Linked DNA regions of Homo sapiens: region 2 is linked to region 1. The links are contacts of gene promoters, found by promoter capture Hi-C in blood cells and fetal thymus (Javierre and others, 2016). All regions are on one chromosome and are shown on one strand. Each heading gives the region's core, a stretch centred on a gene start or on the middle of the fragment in contact. The rest is flanking DNA. Distances are from core to core; before and after follow the strand shown. Region 1 holds the start of GPRIN3 (GPRIN family member 3). Region 2 overlaps GPRIN3 (GPRIN family member 3).

What was found. The method cuts DNA at HindIII sites, captures the fragments that hold promoters and counts their contacts. A CHiCAGO score of 5 or more calls a contact.
Region 2: a contact is called between a fragment that was not itself captured here and the fragment with the promoter of GPRIN3 in region 1, in 5 of 17 cell types (naive CD8 T cells, non-activated CD4 T cells, activated CD4 T cells and 2 more). The highest score is 7.6, in naive CD8 T cells.

What each region holds. Positions count from the first base shown.
Region 1 is chr4:89,306,423-89,309,122 of GRCh38, reverse strand. It overlaps GPRIN3 (GPRIN family member 3), which reads left to right and starts at 1,323. Exons shown (of 2, transcript NM_198281.3): 1 at 1,323-1,508. RefSeq lists silencers at 1,244-1,313, 1,324-1,373. The HindIII fragment of the contact is 16,857 bases long and covers 1-2,700 here.
Region 2 is chr4:89,261,049-89,263,748 of GRCh38, reverse strand. All of the region lies in intron 1 of GPRIN3 (GPRIN family member 3), which reads left to right. Among named protein-coding and RNA genes, the nearest start is that of GPRIN3, 45 kb to the left of the region's middle. The HindIII fragment of the contact is 2,635 bases long and covers 16-2,650 here.

The DNA of each region.
Region 1 (2,700 bases), core at 74-2,573:
CACCTGAGGTCAGGTGTTCCAGACCAGCCTGGCCAACGTGGAGAAACCCTGTCTCTACTAAAAATACAAAAATTAGCCGGGCGTGGTGGTGGGCGCCTGTAATCCCAGCTACTTGGGAGGCTGAGGCAGGAGAATCGCTTGACCCCGGGAAGCGGAGCTTGCAGTGAGCCGAGAGCGCGCCACTGCACTCCAGCCTAGGAGACGAAGCAAAAAACAAAAAACAACAACAACAAAAAACTAAAAAAGCGTTTCCTCAGTCCCTACCCCAGACCTATTGGATCACAATCAGCATTTTAACAAGACCCCCTAGGTGAGTCCTGTGTACTAGATGAGAGGATATATTTTGGATTGGTTTGAATCCCAGCTGAGCAGGTTACTACTGTGTGACCTCAAGCAAAGTGTTTAGATCATATAAGCCTGTTTCCTCGTCCACATGGTAAGGCACCTCAATGGGTTGTAGTAAGAATTAAAGAGGCTGAGGCTGTATGTAAGGCATTTTTCACAGAGCCTTCCAACAAATACCCAGTTAATAATGAAGCTCTTTTCATCGTATCATTTTGCACCATCTACAGCTGCTAACCATACTACACATCCATTCAGGATTCTGGAGCTGCTCAACAGGGAAGATTTCCAAAGCCCTCAAAGCCCTCCAAGCCCATGGGGTAGCGGGAAGGGGATGGGGACAGGAACACTGTCAGCAGTGCCTCTCCGAATACGCAGGATACTGTACATTTTGCAAAACATATTACTTATCGGATGATCTTGCTTTCAGATCTCCACTGCACGTGGCTTTATTGGAAACCTTCTGCTAGAGTCTAGACTCAGCCATGGAGTCTGGTGACCTGTGGGAGGGAGCAAGGGCCAGAATGCCTGCTAAATCGCTCTGGGTCCCCAGCCCTCTTCCTTAATCCCTTCTTAACTTTCCATCTGTCTCTGGTCTCCAGGGGTGCAGAACCACAACCCACCAGACCCCTCCTAGCTCCCGGCCCGGCGCTCAGCAGCCTGGGCTGCAACACTTTCCCCCAGGACCGGGAAGGCGGGGGAGGGGGTTTGGAGGGGGCGGAGCTCGGCCTCCTGCTGCCGCCGCTGCTGCTGCCGCCGCCGCCGCCTGCAAAGCTGTCGCCCCTCTCTCGGATGCTCAGGCTGGGCAGCGCTGGACAGATGGGTACACCCCGGGCCTGACGGATGAACAGTCGGGCAAGTGAACTCTCACCTCCAAACTGGCTCTGCGCCCGGCGGGGGCGGCGGCGGCGTCTGCAGCCCCGCGGTGGGGGCAGCCCCCTCGGTCTACGCCCGACTGCTGCGCGCCGCCTCTGCTCTTGGCATAGTAATTTCAGTTCCTGAACGCACGGAGCTCGCTCCGGGACCGGGCTGAGAAGGACCTCAGCTCGCGGGCCCGCCGGAGCCATCGGTGTGGCGCCGAGAGACGGTGCTTGGGATATGCGACGGGAAGCCCCCGCCACAGCGCAGGCAGTGGCCCCGCCGCGCCGCGGAGCCGGGCAGAGCAGGTAGGAGACGCCCCCTGCGCACCTCCGCCTGGCGGCCAGCGCGGGGGACCGGAGCCTGGTGGTGTGCTCTGTAGGGATGCGGAAGGGATTCGGTCCCACATTTTGCACAGGGATCCTTTGCCTGTTGCTCTTGTCTCTGTCCCATCCTGCGCTCTAGGAGGGGCAGTCTTTCTCGCAGGTGATGAATTTCTCTGCAAGGTCATTGCTCTCTTTGGCTCTGGCTTTGAAGGTAAATGGGAGAAGACGCCTGCTGATCGTGGGCAGGGAAATTTATAATCAATCGGGTCTGCACACTGCGAATATCCGAATATGAGGGGTGTGTGTGTGTGTGTGTGTGTGTGTGTGACATTTGTCTCATTTTCCTATGCTTATCCCCTTTAAGGTCAAAACATAGAAATATATATTACATATGGATGTATGTATGTGTGTGTATATACACACACATACATAAATGCATATGTAAATAGGTTTTCTTGAGGTAGGCAGAAAGAAGAGGAAGGGCGGGCAGGGGTTGATAAAGGGAAATCGTTGTAGAGACATGTTCACTAATAGAGGCGAACTTTGGAACCACATTAAATCAGGGTAGAGACTAGAGGTGATAAACGGTTCTTTCAAGATGGGCTTTAGAAGAGGTCTGAAGGAGCCTGTCAGCCAACACACACAGAAGATCTTCATGCTCTCCAGGCAGATGGAAACGATGTAGGCATCATTTCAGACGCAATAATGGACAGTGAAAGAGGGAAAAAAGGAGAGGTACTTAATATGCCACTGGGAAGTGAATTTTGGGTGATGGGAAGGCATCGAATCCAGACCAGGTTTCAAGGGCTTTCTGGAGGGCCATTGGGAGAAATCACCGCTTGGGGTGTAGGCAGTTCAAGGTTAAGACGATGTGAATGTCCACAAAGCAGCCGAGGAGGTGGGCAAAAGGCAAGGGCTTGGAGGGGGAGGGGAGAAACAGAGCTCTGAGCAGTCACTCAAGAAGCACCCACCTTTGAGTAAGGTGTCTTCTTCCTCTTGGTTAAAGCGGTACTTGGGTATGCTCCATCTAAATATTTTCACAACACATTTGTTTAAAGATCCATTGGACTATGTTTTTATTTTGTTTTTGCAAGGTATCTGGGTCATGGTGGGACTAGAAGAAACTGAAGTGTTTACAACACCAGCAAGATTTGGGAGAGAGGGTTGATTAAGG
Region 2 (2,700 bases), core at 84-2,583, 45 kb after region 1:
TCCTTTTTTGAAGCTTGTTTTCAGATACGTAAATAACACACAGAATCTGACAAATGACAATAATGCTGCAGGACTTTTCCTTAGTTCAGCTAAAGATGGGGTACTTTGTCCTACAGCCACGAAAATTCAGGCTCACAGGCAATTTGAATGGTTAGTAATACAGGGTTTTATTGAGTGAAAAGGAAGAAGGGGAAACAGGGACACTCCAAAGGCCTGAGTCCCTGCTACAGTGCTTCCTGCCTGGCCATTTGAATCCCAGGTTTCACACAGGAAGAGGAGGGGCCAGGCTCCTCCCTGCAGCAAATGGTGCAGACTTCCTGGGCCTCCACCCCAGTGCACATTCCCGCCAGTGCACAGGCTGGATGGAGATTCTCCGGGGACCCCCTCCCACCTGGCTATCTCAATAAGAGAACATACCAATCAGAAAATGAAATGGATCAGATAGTGAAGGACATTTTTTTAAATTGTGCCCAAATGTATACATCTTATTTTGTAGGTGAATGGGGAACGATTAAAATTTTTTATGCACAGAGAAGTGGCATATTTGTTTGTTTTACAAAGGTAACATTAGCAGCAAGTGGCGGGTAAGTGTTTAGCATTGACTGAATGAGACCAGTTAGTATAATATTGTGCTTTCATGAGATATGATAAATTCAGTTAAGCCCAGTACTGACAGAAGACGTGGATTTGATAACTGGCAATTAAAATATGTTTTCTAAATTTTGTATGTTGACATTTAGTCAATTCCCAAAATATAGACTAGAGAAATAAAAATAAATGCATTTTTTTCTTAATCACTTTTATTGATGTTTTGACTTAATTTCGTAGTTGTTTGTCTTAGGTCATCTTTGGATTTATTGTTTGAGGAATGTATGATTTGAAAACCAACTGCTAGAGCTACCAGGAATAGGAAAGTAGGGGGATGGCGGAGGGTGGGCAGGGCAGAGAAATCAACTAATAAACAGGAGTCAGAAAGTCTGGGAAAAGTAACTTAAGTAAACTTTTATTTTGTGGCCTAACAGACATTACTTTAAAAAGCATTTCTCAGCTGTTGACTTTGAAAACTACTCACATTGCCCAGCTTGGAGCTTTTAGATAACCAAGATGGATAAGAAAATTATGGTTTCCTTAGTTGCATGGCCAGGCTGACCTCCCTGCACAGCAAAGAGCAGATGGAAAGGGTGTTGAAGCGTAGACCAGCACGAATCCATCATCACTGACAGAAACGTCAGCGTGCATGCTTGCTCAGTTTTGCCTAGGTGAGGAGCACCAGGCCTTACATTTTTTTTATTATTTTTGAGTAGGTAATAAGTTCATATAGTTTAAAATTCCAAAAATACAAAAGGATACTAAGCGAAAAATGTTCCATCCATTCTGTCCCCCAAGCACCATCTTCCTTCTCTGATAGCAATTTTTTATTTATCCTTGCAGCAATATTTTATATGTCTACAAGCAAAGATACTCATTTTTCTCTTCTTAATACAAATGGTAGCATACAAAATATGCCAGTATCTTGAAATTTTATTATTATTATTGGATTTTTGTTTTGTTTTAGTTGCTGTTTTACTTAAAAATGTATTTTGGAGATTATTCCATATCAATTCTTTTTTTTTTTTTTTTTTTGAGACTGGGTCTCACTCCGTCATCTAGGCTGGAGTGCAGTGGCAGCATCTCAACTCACTGCAACCTCTGCCTCCCAGGCTCAAGCAGTTCCACCACCTCAGCCTCCTAACCAAGTAGCTGGGACCACAGGCGCGTGCCACCATGCCAGGCTAATTTGTGTGTGTGTGTGTATTTTTAGTAGAGACGGGGTTTCACCATGTTGCCCAGGCTGGTCTTGAACTCCTAAGCTCAGGCTATCCACCCCCCTACAGCCTCCCGAAGTCCTAGAATTACAGCTGGAGCCACCTCACCCAGCCCCATATCAATTCTTAAAGAGCTTCCTCGTTACTGAGTATGGCTGCTTAGTATTCATTTCATCAAAATAGCATAATTTTTATAACTAACTTCTTATTAATGGACATTTAAATTGCTTCTAATCTGTTGTTATTTCATGTAGTGAAAAACCTTGTGCATATATCAATTAGCACATTTATTTAGTTTACTTACAACATTAGTACCTGAGGTGGAATTGCAGAGTCAGTGTATACAAACTGGCATTTTTGATAAACATTGCCAAATTGTTCCTTATAGGAATTATACTAACTTGCATTCTCACAGGTAGAGTATGAGAAGTGCTCTCTTTGACTTGAGAGCCGAAAACTATATCATTAAGTCATATCCAGCTGGAATAAGTTATCTTACATCAACTCACAGGCATTCATTCTAAGGAGATTTCTGTCTATCAAAGGTAAATATGCTCACCTCCTGGATCAGTGGTTCTTTCAATCAGGGACAATTACGTCCTCCCAGAAATGTCTGGAGACATTTTTTATTGTCACAGCTGGAAGTAGGGGCACTACTGGGATCTGGGGAGCGGAGGCCAGCATTGCGCTGCTAAACATCCTACTGTGCATAGGACAATCCTCCTTTCTTCCCTTCCCCACTACAAGCTATCTGGTCCAAAATGTCGATAGTTCCAGGGTGAGAAACTCTACCCTAGATTAACATCTAGCTCCTCTTGATCATATTAAATACGTCTTACAAAGCTTAGGATTCTCCACTCTAATTTAAGATCTGTGCTGAATAAAATGACAAATC